Regions from separate parts of the Homo sapiens genome. Here regions 1 and 2 are each linked to region 3. The links are contacts of gene promoters, found by promoter capture Hi-C in blood cells and fetal thymus (Javierre and others, 2016). All regions are on one chromosome and are shown on one strand. The core of a region is centred on a gene start or on the middle of the fragment in contact, and the rest is flanking DNA. Distances in the headings are between cores, read along the strand shown.

Region 1 (3,535 bases), core at 713-3,212, 6.1 Mb after region 3:
ACGGGGTCTCCTCTGTCGGGGAGGGACCTGTGAGGCCTGACCTGTGTGGTCAGGTCTCCTGCCCAACCAGACAAGACCTCTCACTGCAGCCCCTCTCCCCAGGACTGGGATGAGCCAGCCCAGCCCCTTTCACAGGTTCTGGGGGAACACCCTGACACCTCCTCTCCTCCTCTCCTTCCCCTAGCCTTTTGCACTCCATCCGTGCCCTCCCCCAGCCTCATTTGTGTGCTCCCTACCATTGTCCCTCCACACAGGTAGATATTCCTCCTGCTGCACGTCCAGCATGATGTCCAGCCCATTGCCCATGCCACCCCTAGTAGTGGTGAGCAGCTCTGCCCCATCAGCGCCAGAGTTAAATGTGTAGCACTTTCCCATCCGGGTGAAGATCTGGGGCGGGCAGACAGGGTGATGGCCATCTCCCCCAGGCAGGCACATGGTCATGGGACCTCTCCCCACCTCATGGTATGTTTGCGTCTCTTCTTTGAATACTGAAGCCCGCATCTCAATGCCCCCAGCCCCACGCTCCAGTGGGCACATGTTGCAGGACGCTCTTGGGAGCCCATCAACTCAGCTCCTCCACCCCGCCAATCCCCACCAAAGCCCAGGGCACAGCCTACAGGTTTTTCTGTGTTTCTCTGGGAACTGCAGGAAAAGGAAATGGGCCCCTGTGGCTGTCCTCCGGGGCTGGCAGTATGTTGAAAAGGCAGAGGGAAAGCAAGCCCCCCCCACCTCCTGGCAGAGATAGGGGTCTTCTGCCCCAGAATGGTCCCACCATGGAGGACCCCCAGCCCCAGGAGCAGGGCCTCCCTGGGCCAGACCTCAGGCCTAGGGCCAGCCGGGGTCAGTGTGGCCTCACATGCTCCCCTCGGGCTGGGAGACAGAGAAAGCCCCAAGGAGGACAGCTTCCTGGGCTGCACGGAGTGGCACTGGGGGGTGGGGAGTCCATGGCTGGTAGGAAGGAAGAGGTCCCCTGGCTTTGGGGGAGCCTGTGCTGGCTAGGGAATTGTGGGTGCTGGGCAGGGACTGGTCGGCTCTCTGGGTCCCTGGCAGGATAGGTAGGGAGGTCAGCTCACCGTGGTGAAGTTCTCAGGCCCACAAGGTTGGCCACGGAAGCGACAGTCCAGCAGCATGTCATCCAGGGAGTGCCCAGCACGGGCATAGAGTTGCGCCATGTCAAAGGTGGGACTGGGCATGAAGCCGGGCGGTGCAGGGGGCCGGCCCAGGGCGCGCAGGAAGGCGGCGTGCTCTGCGGGATCCAGGCCCAGCAGCGCAGACCCAGCCCAGTGCAGGTCGTTGGGCGTTAGGCGCGAGCGGCGCAGTGGGTTGATGTTGCACAGGGTGACAGCCGGGAAGATGAGCCGGTGGCTTTCTCGCTCATCCAGGGCAGTCTGGTGGTGGAACTCCCTGTAGTAGCGCACCCTCTCAGCCACCTGGTAGAGGAAGGTGGCCACTGACAGGACCACGGCCGCTGCCCACATCCCCCGGCGCAGGCTCAGGCTGCCTGGCCCGAAGACGTGGCCCAGCCCGTGCATCGAGCAGTTGCTGGCGAACACGCGGATGTCCGAGGCTGGCCGCCGGGCCTCCTCTGGGCCTGAGGTGGGCTTCATGGCCAGAACCCAGGAGCGGAACCAGCTACAGAGGCTTGGAAGAAGCGAGAGAGAGTCAGTCAGGGGGCTAAGGAGGCTAAGATAGGATTCAGGAGGCCAGGCAAGGAGAGGAGAAGAGAGGGTGGGAGACAGCCAAGGTTGGAAGGCAGGGAGGCACTAGCCTGGCAGGATTGGAGGAGGTGATCTGGCCGGTCAGGTCCCACTGTTCCTTCCCGAGGAACAGGCGGTGGCTCCACTGGGCTAGGCACTGGGCTGGGGACTCCGCAGCAGACCAGGTGGGACGTAGCTGACCGTGGCAGGCAGGGGCTGCGGAGCGGTGCTGAGCCGGCGGTGCTGAGCCGGCGCTGCTGCAGAGGATTGGGTTTCAGCAGTAGGGGGGAAAGGGGGCCGACAGAGCAGTCTGGGGGGTAGGAGAGGTCCCTAGGGCCCCAGGCTGAGCCATTAGTGCAGCATGGAGGGGGGCATGGCTGTCCAAGACGAGAGGCGCCAGGAGGAAACCGCAGTAATCCTAGGGAGAGCTTGAGAAAAGCCCAGAGGTAGATTGGGCCTGGAGATGCCTTGGGGCCCCCTAGGCTCCCAGTTGCAACCCCTGTACACTGGCCGCGAGGGTCAGTCGCTGACCCCTGGCCTAGCTCCTCTCTCCTTTTGCCTCTGCGGCCTTCCCTCTAGCTTCACCCAGGATCTGTTCCTTCACGAATACCAGAGCTGGCTCTTGGCCAAGCTGGGAAATGGTTGGAAGGCTGGCATCAGCAGATCTCTTCTTTCTGTGCCCCTAGCATCTCAGCCTACACTGGATGGCCAGGGCACTCTTCATGTCCCACTTCCAGGGCCCGTCTGTTTCCTAAGTGTCCCTCTCTCCCTAGGGAGTCAAAGCCTACCTCCCCACACTCAGGCCTCTGAGGATGTTGGCCTCTACAATGGTTATGGGCTCACCTGCCACCCCAGGTAGAACATGGGTGCCCCACCTGCCACCCTCCCGGGTACCACGGGTACCCCACCTGCCATCTCAGGCACAACATGGGTATTCTGTGATTTCCCATCTTACGCTGCTATATCCAGGACCTGGAAAACCTACATTTTTCCAAAGGGCTGCATACCACCCATTATGTGCACATACCATAGTTTATTTAATGACTCCCCCACTGATGGGCACTGGGGGTGTCCAGTCTTTCCATTACAAACAATGTTGCCGTATCATCACACAGATGTGAACTCCCAGGACTTTGGTGGGCTTTTTTTGACCATGAGTGGTAGAAACATGGTTCCACCAGCCAAACGTGTGCACACACCATGCTGCAACTGCTGGGCCACCTGTCTGTCCTCCCAACAGGACACAAGCTTCATGGGGGCAGGGACTGTCCTCATTCCCCATCGTGGGCTCAATGGCACATGACAGGTGCTTGATTAATAAACACTTTGGAAGGACTGAGTACCATGGTTACAGCACAGGCGTACCAGCTCCCCAGAGCCACAGTGCCATGCTTTGCAAGTATTTACTGTAGATGATCCCACTCACACTCTCAAAACAGGCATTCAGCATCAAGCACAGCTAGGCTCCCACTCTCCACTGTGGAGCGAAGGCCGAGGCGAGGTTAGGAAGACGGCGCGGCTCCTGCGGTCTAGCTCTTCCAGCTGGACTAGCCAAGGGGTTTCACTGCTTCTCTAGGGGGCGGGTGAAGGGCTGGATTTAAAGAAGCCGCCCAGAAGATATAAATCTGGTGTCAGAGGCATTTTGGGCAGCCTGAGGCTGATGACTGAGTGGGTGAAGCAGGAACCACCTTGGCTGGCTGCCTGGTGAGGGAGGGGTCAGGCCAACAAGCAGGGCCCCAGCAGGGCTTGTGGACTTGCCAGCTGAGGCCCTACTCTGGGCTGCCCTAAGGAGGGGTTTAGCTGTGAACCAGCCCCAGGCTCTGCTCCTGGACCTCCAC
Region 2 (3,502 bases), core at 260-2,759, 6.1 Mb after region 3:
CCAGCCCAGGCAGGGCTGGTTCTCCCCTCACCTCTCGCTCCACCTCCAGCCGGGTCTCAGGAACACCTCCCATGAGAGGCTCGGTGACGTGGGGGTCACTCTCAGCCCCCTGACCATGGTGATGCCCCAGCAGGGAGCCCAGGGAGCCAGCTGAGATGTTGCGGGGGAAGGAGAAGTCCTTCTCATCACTTGGGTGGCTGGTGGGGCAGAGGGCAGTGAGGCAAAGGAGGGTCAATGACAAGGGCCAGGGCAGGTGGGCTGAAGTGTCATCCCCAACTGGCCCACAGGGCCTCACCTGTGTTTCAACAGCAGAGCCCGCAGCACGTTGGCCCTGTCCTCGGCCTTGATCTGGTCAGAGATGACCATCTGCTCCACCACCTGGTGGGCCACTCCGGGCAGGGTCTGCTGGTCCAGATCCAAGAGCACAGCCCCTAGCATAAGATGGCACAGAGGGCCCCTCAGCCCCAGGTCACAAAACAGTGGCAGGAGATGGGATGGGGAGCAGGAGCTGGGGACAGGTGGGTGGGTGCCGGGGCTGGAACACCAGCCTACACATGAAGGACGCGGGCTCGAGTTCTGGCTCCCACAGGAGCCTACGTCACATCAACCCTCTGGTTCCTCCCCTCCCCCAGACCCCCAGGAACGTTATGAGGCTCCACAGAGACTACTGAACCTCAGTGACCAGAGAGGCCATCTAGGCCACGCCTGTCAGACACCCCTTCCAGGAAGCATCCGGCCTCCATGGGGACGGTCCAGGCCGCCCACTCTGGCTGAACCCTCTTGGCTGTTAGAAAACTCTCCTCTAAGTGAGCCAGGTGCTGTGTCACTCTAGGGGCCTAGTTCTACCCTGATACACAACTCAGCTGGTCTGCAGCCTCGTCCGTGTGGCCACCCTGGAGCCATCTGAAGACCCCCCTCCGCCCCAAGCTTCTTGACTTCCTTGTCGGCTTCTCAACCTCCCCTCGCCATTGCACACAGAAATAACAGTCCCTTCAAAAGTTACCAGGTCATTCATCTGGCAAGGCCAACTTTCAGGAACAAAGACTAAAGAATAAACAGAACCAAACACCCCTGAGCAGCCAGGCTGGAGACCACAACGCCCAGTGAGAAAGCCCTTCCACGGCGGCCCTTTACCCAAAGACCCTGAGCCTCACTCACGGCCTATGGACTCCTAGTTGGGAAACAATTCTAAAAGCCGGTTTCTAGGTCCTCAGCTGCTTTTTTTTTTTTTTTTTTTGGTGATAAGAGTCTCGCTCTGTCGTTCAGGCTGGAGCGCAATGGCATGATCTTGGCTCACTGCAAGCTCTACCTCCCAGGTTCACACCATTCTCCTGCCTCAGCCTCTCAAGTAGCTGGGACTACAGGCACCTGCCACCGTGCCCCGCTAATTTTTTGTATTTTTAGTAGAGATGGGATTTCACCTTGTTAGCCAGGATGGTCTCAATCTCCTGACCTCGTAATCCACCCACCTCAGCCTCCCAAGGTGCTGGGATTATAGGCATGAGCCACCGCGCCCAGCAGCTGCTTCGTTTACTTTTTTTTTTTTAATTTAATTTTAAGCCAGGCACAGTGGCTCATGCCTGTATTCCCAACATTTTGGGAGGCTGAGGCGGGTAAATCACTTGAGCCCAGGAGTTTGAGACCAGTCTGGGCAACATGGTGAAACCCCATCTCTACTAAAAATAAAACAATTAGGCAGGCATGGTAGCACGCGCCTGTAGTTCCAGCTACTTGGGAGGCTGAGGCAGGAGGATCACTTGAGCATGGGAGGTGGAGGTTGCAGTGAGCCAAGATCACACCACTGTACTCCAGCCTGGGCAACAGAGCAAGATCCTGTCTCGAAAAAAAAAATTAATTTTTTTCCTAGGCTGCCTCAAACCACAGAACCTCAGCTGCTTAGAAACAGGCCTTTTAACAACAACTGAGAGTGGTCACTCATTGGGAAGGAGCAAGCAAGCAAACACAGGGCTTGGAAGTCCTGCATCTGTGGTCGGTGGTCATTTCGTGAGGTCTACACAGCTGCAGATTAGATCACATTCCACAGAATCTCTAAGATGGTACCAAGGCATGCCAGGAATTTCAGAAAGCTTTACATCTAAATAGCTTCTCGAACATTTTCGCAACCAAAACACATCGGCTTCAGTTGTTATCTGAGAATATCAAGAAGCTGCTGGCCGAAAATGCAAATGTGAGCTGGGTGTGGACCATGCTTCCTCTGGGCTCTGGGGCTGTCACACAACGTGGGGCTCAAGACAGATTTGGGGCCATGTGGGAGAATTTCCTGGGGACTGGCCAGGCGGGAGGTGGAGGGGAGCGGGGTTACCATGGGCCAGGGTCCTGCGGAGCTCCAGGAGACTGCGGAAGGAGAGGGAGGCCACGTGGGGCTTCCCCCAGCGCTCAGTCTCCTCCTCCACGTCCTCTTCAAATTTGATCCAGCGAGCTGTCTCCCGCCACTGGGGCTCCTGGTTTTTGTCCAGGAGCAACTCATTCAGCTCCACAAACACCTTGGGGAGAGAAGAGAAGGCATTTCAGGGTACAGAGCCGGAGGCAGCCCTGGGGTGGGTGTCAGAGGTGAGTGGTGTCAGAGGGAGCCAAGTGACCCTGGAGAGCACGAGCACAGTGGGTGGTGCACAGGCGCACCAGTCCCACAGCCAGCTGGGACCCTGGACAACTGACTAACCAATGAGACGCAGTTTCCCTCATCTGTCAAATGGGAATAATACCCACCTCAAAGAACTGTCAGAAGGATGAAAAGGAAAAGCACATGGCACGCTACGTGCCTCAGAGTGAGCACTTGAGAAATGGCCACTGTATATGAAAGCAATGGCGTTTTGCAGGCCTTTTAACAGACGTGAATTATAACCACAATACTCAAATCAACGACATCCACCATGGGGAGTATAATCACAGTGCCCAAGTCAATAAGCTCTAAGATGTGTATACTGCACTCTTGTGCAGTGTACAACCTTCACAACCAAAGGTGGCATCCCTGGGCCCGGCGCGGCAGCTCATGCCTGTAATCCTAGCACTTTGGGAGGCCGAGGCGGGCGGATTCCTAGAGGCTAGGAGTTGGAGACCAGCCTGGCCAACATGGTAAAACTGCATCTCTACTAAAAATACAAAAATTAGCTGGGCGTAGCAGGTGCCTGTAATCCCAGCTACTCAGGAGGCTGAGGCAGGAGAATCGCTTAAACCCAGGAGGCAGAGGTTGCAGTGAGCTGAGATCACACCACTGCACTCCATCCTGGGCAACAGAGCGAGACTGTCTCAAACAACAACAAAACAACAGTGGCAACCCTGAGGCTTGAGATTACAGCTGGTCTGAGAGGTAGGGGCAGGGTCGTGTGGGAAGTTGATGGAAGAGCATGAAGCAGAGCATGGTACCTCATGGGGCTTGTGGGGGGCCCGGGGTCGGGCCCGAGGTGTGGGGCCAGGCTCCCGCCCTTCTCGGCCACTCTGTGTGGAACCTTTGGCATTCTTCCGCACCAAGTGCCGCCGCACC
Region 3 (3,780 bases), core at 1,281-3,780:
TGGCTATAGGTTTCTGTTAAGTGCACTCTAGGACGGTCCCACAACAACCAACTGGACTAGTGACAGCGTCCCCCTCTTTAAGTCACATATGACTGTAATGAATGGGTGAGAGTGCAGGGGAGCCTCTGGAATGCTGGGGATGGTCTTCCTTTGATGTGAGTGGTGTTCCATCTACAGGAGAGTGTCCATATGCAAAAATCCTTCAAGCTGTACATACAGCTGGCTCCCCACCCAGATTCCTTAACCAGGCCAGGGCACCCATGCCCCAGCTGCTGCCAGTTCCTACTAAGGGCTCTTTACTGCCACTCTCTCCCAGAAGAATGGCCCTCGGCTCAGGGTTAGCAGTGCCACACTCCCACCCTCATCCCGGAGGGGCAGCAGCCTGCAGCCACCAACCCCTCTGCCGCAATTAGGGCCAATTGTAGCATGCTCCTGGTGAGATGGGGTTAACGCTAGCCTCCAGCTGAGACGCCTTTTCCTTCCCTACCCAGCTTCCCTCTCGCCCTTCCTCCTCAATTTCACTTGCACAAGGATCTCTTTAGTGTTTGTGAACCTGACTGTATCTTAAGTTATACCTCAATAAAAAGAGTTTTGTTTTTAAAGGGGTGATTCTTTTACACAGCTCGTGCTATCTTCCCTTGAGATTCTGATCAACAGTTAAGAAATCTCACTCCCTCAGAGCAGAGATGCACTCCTTGGTGAAAAGGGACCAACATCCGTGGCCCGTGGGGTGTTCCTGCCTGCAACAGAGGCCGCGCGGCGCTGTGTAAATGGCATGGAGTCTCAGATGGTCTGCCACTAGCTTGCTGTGTGAATGGGCACTCCTTCAAATGTTCTGCAGCTCACCTTCCGAACTTGTAAGCAAGGCGATTTGGCCCTGAGATTCTCTGAAGTCTCTCCTAACTGTAGAAATCCTTTGATCTCATAAAACATTTTCATTAACGTGGAAGACCCTAAGTGCTACCACGACCACCCTTAACTGCACAGTACTTAGTTCTGGAGCACAAGTGACTTCCAAGCAATCACCATCACACGAACCTCAAAGCTGAAAAATTATCAGCACACTTCTCTCCCAACTCTTTACCCAGGTTCCCTTCTAACCTCAGAAACCACCAAACACAGCCCCACAGCACAATCTTAATAACAGCAGTTCCTCCTTGGCCTGCCAGCACCCACTCTGCGTTATGTGCCTACCTGGTGGTTGTGATATACAGAATATACTGATAGACAAGAAAAACTAGGTGAAGCATTTTAAAGAACATTTCAGAAATGATGGGAAGGGGTGGGAAGGGAGGGGCGGGAACAAGACCACACAGTGTTCAACGACTTAGCGGTTCCAGTGAACCAACTGATGCCCGTCTTCAGGGACAGACAGCTAGAAATTCTAGACTAGAACAGAGGCGTCATGGTTTGCCTACCCTTATCCTAAACAATTACCATGCGAACAACTTAATGTCGATCACAACAGATGTAAGTCCGGAGTCTCTCCACAGTTTCCAGGAGGCTGGTGGCAAATAATTGCCCTCGTCTTGGATTCAAACACGTGGCTATTCATGAGACGTTCTGCCTCTACTTTAGAGATTATCGACATCAGCAAATGCGTGCCGTTCACCTTCTACAACCGAAAACGCCCTTCAGGTGGCATTCGAAAAGCAGCCACTCCCTGATGCCATGCGGGAGCGAGCATGGAAAGCGCATTTCTGAAAGGAAACACCCAGAAAGGGTAAGTTCACCTTGGGTGGCACAAAGCGTGCCAGGGTTCACCGGCCTCCTGCATGGAAGGGAGCCACGGCCAGCGCGCCCGGGTCCCGAAGCGCAGTGGACAGGCAAGGCCCCCACGGGCGCGGCCTCGAGTTCCAGCCAGGGAGGCCCCGAGTCCAGTCCTAAGCCCCAGCCAGAGTCCTGGCCCCAAGTCTCGGCTCCGAGTCCAACCCCGAGTCCCGGCCGGAGCGGCCCCGAGATCCGGCGAGGAAGCCCCGAGTCCCCGCCAGGGAGGCCCCGAATCCAGCCCCAAGTCTCGGCCCCGAGTCCAGCCCCGAGTCCAGCCCCGAGTCCCAGCCCCGAGCCCCGGCCGCGCAGGCCCCGAGCCGAGGGCGCCCCGCCAGCCCGGCCCTCACCTTCCTGCTCGCGCCGCCAAGGGACACCTTGGGCCGCGTCTTGAAGTCGCCTTCGAAGCTGAACATCCTGGCAGCCTAGCCCATGTGCGGGCAGCGCCGCCGCGGAAGCAGCCGGGCGGGCGGGGCACGGGGCGGGCTGGGAGGCTCTCGGCGCCCGCCCGCCCGGCCCGGGGCAGCGAGGACGCGGCGGCCGGGAGGCGACCCGAGCCCGCCCCCGGGCTGTACCCTCCCAGCCCTGCCCTGGGGCGGGAGGGGCGGCAATACTGGAGGGGCGGCCCTGCCTCGCCTGCCCCTCATCCACGCCGGCCACAGCTCGGGCCGCTGCAGGGGCGCCCAGCGGGCAGCAAACCCGGCGCTTGCACCTGGAACTGCCGCCTCGGGAGGGAAGATGGCGGTCAGCCGTCAGTGCGTGCGCGGCCCTGCAGACGTGCGCGGCCCTGCAGACGTGCGCGGCCCTGCAGACGTGCGCGGCCCTGCAGACGTGCGCGGCCCTGCAGACGTGCGCGGCCCTGCAGACGTGCGCGGCCCTGCAGACGTGCGCGCCTCCGCCATTGACGGCACGGCGCTCTTCCCGGCGGTTCCGCTAGCGTGCGCGGCCCCGCAAGGCGCGCTGGAGCCTGGGGAGGACGGCGGTGACGCGGGCTGGGCACGCGGCGGAGTGGGCGGGGCCTGGTGCGTGCTGGGGGAGCGCGGCGAGGGGCGCGGGAGGTGTTGGGTGCGGGGCAGGGTGCGGGAAAGGTGGAGTGCGAGGCACGGGCCGGGATGGGGTGCAGGGCAGGGTGCGGGGTGCAGGGTGGGGTGCAGGGGCCGGCACCCGGAGCGGGCTGGGAGCGGCCAATCTGGTGCCAGACTCGAGTGAGGCGGGAAAGGAGCAGCTAGGCCCAGCCCGTCTGTTTACATCCCACCTGTTCTATGTCTATGACACGCACAGACGGACGTAAATATTTACCATGTACACAGACATGCGCAGATTTGCCTCATACATAGCACACATATGCATCTATAGATACAGCATCAATACATATAAATATGTATCATGTACACATACCTGTGTATGCAAAAATATTTGCTCCTGGACTTACCATGGGGCTTTGTCCTGATAAACCCATCGTAAGATGAAAATATTGTAAGTTGAAAATGTATTTAATGCTACAATAAACCCATCACAAAGTCAAAAAATTGTAAGTTGAGCCATTTTAAGTTGGGGACCACCTATACATAAACATGTGTCTTATATCCACACATACGTATACATAATATCTCATATACATGTGCATATACATATATATCATACACGATTGAAACCAATTTCTAAAAATTGATTTTTGGTTGTATACAAGGTGTGCAACATGATGATTTCATAGAGACATTGTGAAATGACTACCCTCTTTGTGTGTGTGTGGTAAGAGTACATAAAATCTACTCTCTTAGCAAAATTTCAACACACAATACGATATCATCTACAGTCGTCCTGCGGCCGAGCACGGTCGCTCACGCCGGTAATCCCAGCACTCTGGGAGGCCAAGGCGGGCGGATCACCTGAAGTGAAAAGTTCGAGACCAGCCTGGCCAACATGGTGAAACCCCATCTCTAATAAAATACAAAACTTAGGCCGGTGTGGTGGTGCACGCCTGTAGTCCAAGCTACTCTGGAGGCTAAGGCA

What was found. Contacts are between HindIII fragments. The CHiCAGO score rates a contact against its expected background, and 5 or more counts as called.
Region 1: a contact is called between the fragment with the promoter of ASIC3 here and the fragment with the promoter of UBE3C in region 3, in 1 of 17 cell types (total B cells). The highest score is 10.4, in total B cells.
Region 2: a contact is called between a fragment that was not itself captured here and the fragment with the promoter of UBE3C in region 3, in 1 of 17 cell types (naive B cells). The highest score is 5.5, in naive B cells.

Annotation. Positions count from the first base shown.
Region 1 is chr7:151,046,958-151,050,492 of GRCh38, reverse strand. ASIC3 (acid sensing ion channel subunit 3) reads right to left here and starts at 1,962. Exons shown (of 11, transcript NM_004769.4): 1 at 1,074-1,962; 2 at 237-387; 3 at 1-12. The coding sequence starts at 1,607. It overlaps ABCB8 (ATP binding cassette subfamily B member 8), which reads right to left. Exons shown (of 16, transcript NM_007188.5): 16 at 2,711-3,535. RefSeq lists an enhancer at 1-450. The HindIII fragment of the contact is 11,911 bases long and covers 1-2,947 here.
Region 2 is chr7:151,066,876-151,070,377 of GRCh38, reverse strand. SLC4A2 (solute carrier family 4 member 2) reads right to left here. Exons shown (of 23, transcript NM_003040.4): 7 at 3,385-3,502; 8 at 2,324-2,504; 9 at 296-431; 10 at 32-197. Among named protein-coding and RNA genes, the nearest start is that of SLC4A2, 9.0 kb to the right of the region's middle. RefSeq lists an enhancer at 92-592. The HindIII fragment of the contact is 1,160 bases long and covers 930-2,089 here.
Region 3 is chr7:157,137,676-157,141,455 of GRCh38, reverse strand. UBE3C (ubiquitin protein ligase E3C) reads right to left here and starts at 2,530. Exons shown (of 23, transcript NM_014671.3): 1 at 2,118-2,530. The coding sequence starts at 2,183. RefSeq lists silencers at 1,899-1,968, 2,019-2,408, 2,689-3,038. The HindIII fragment of the contact is 7,086 bases long and covers 1-3,780 here.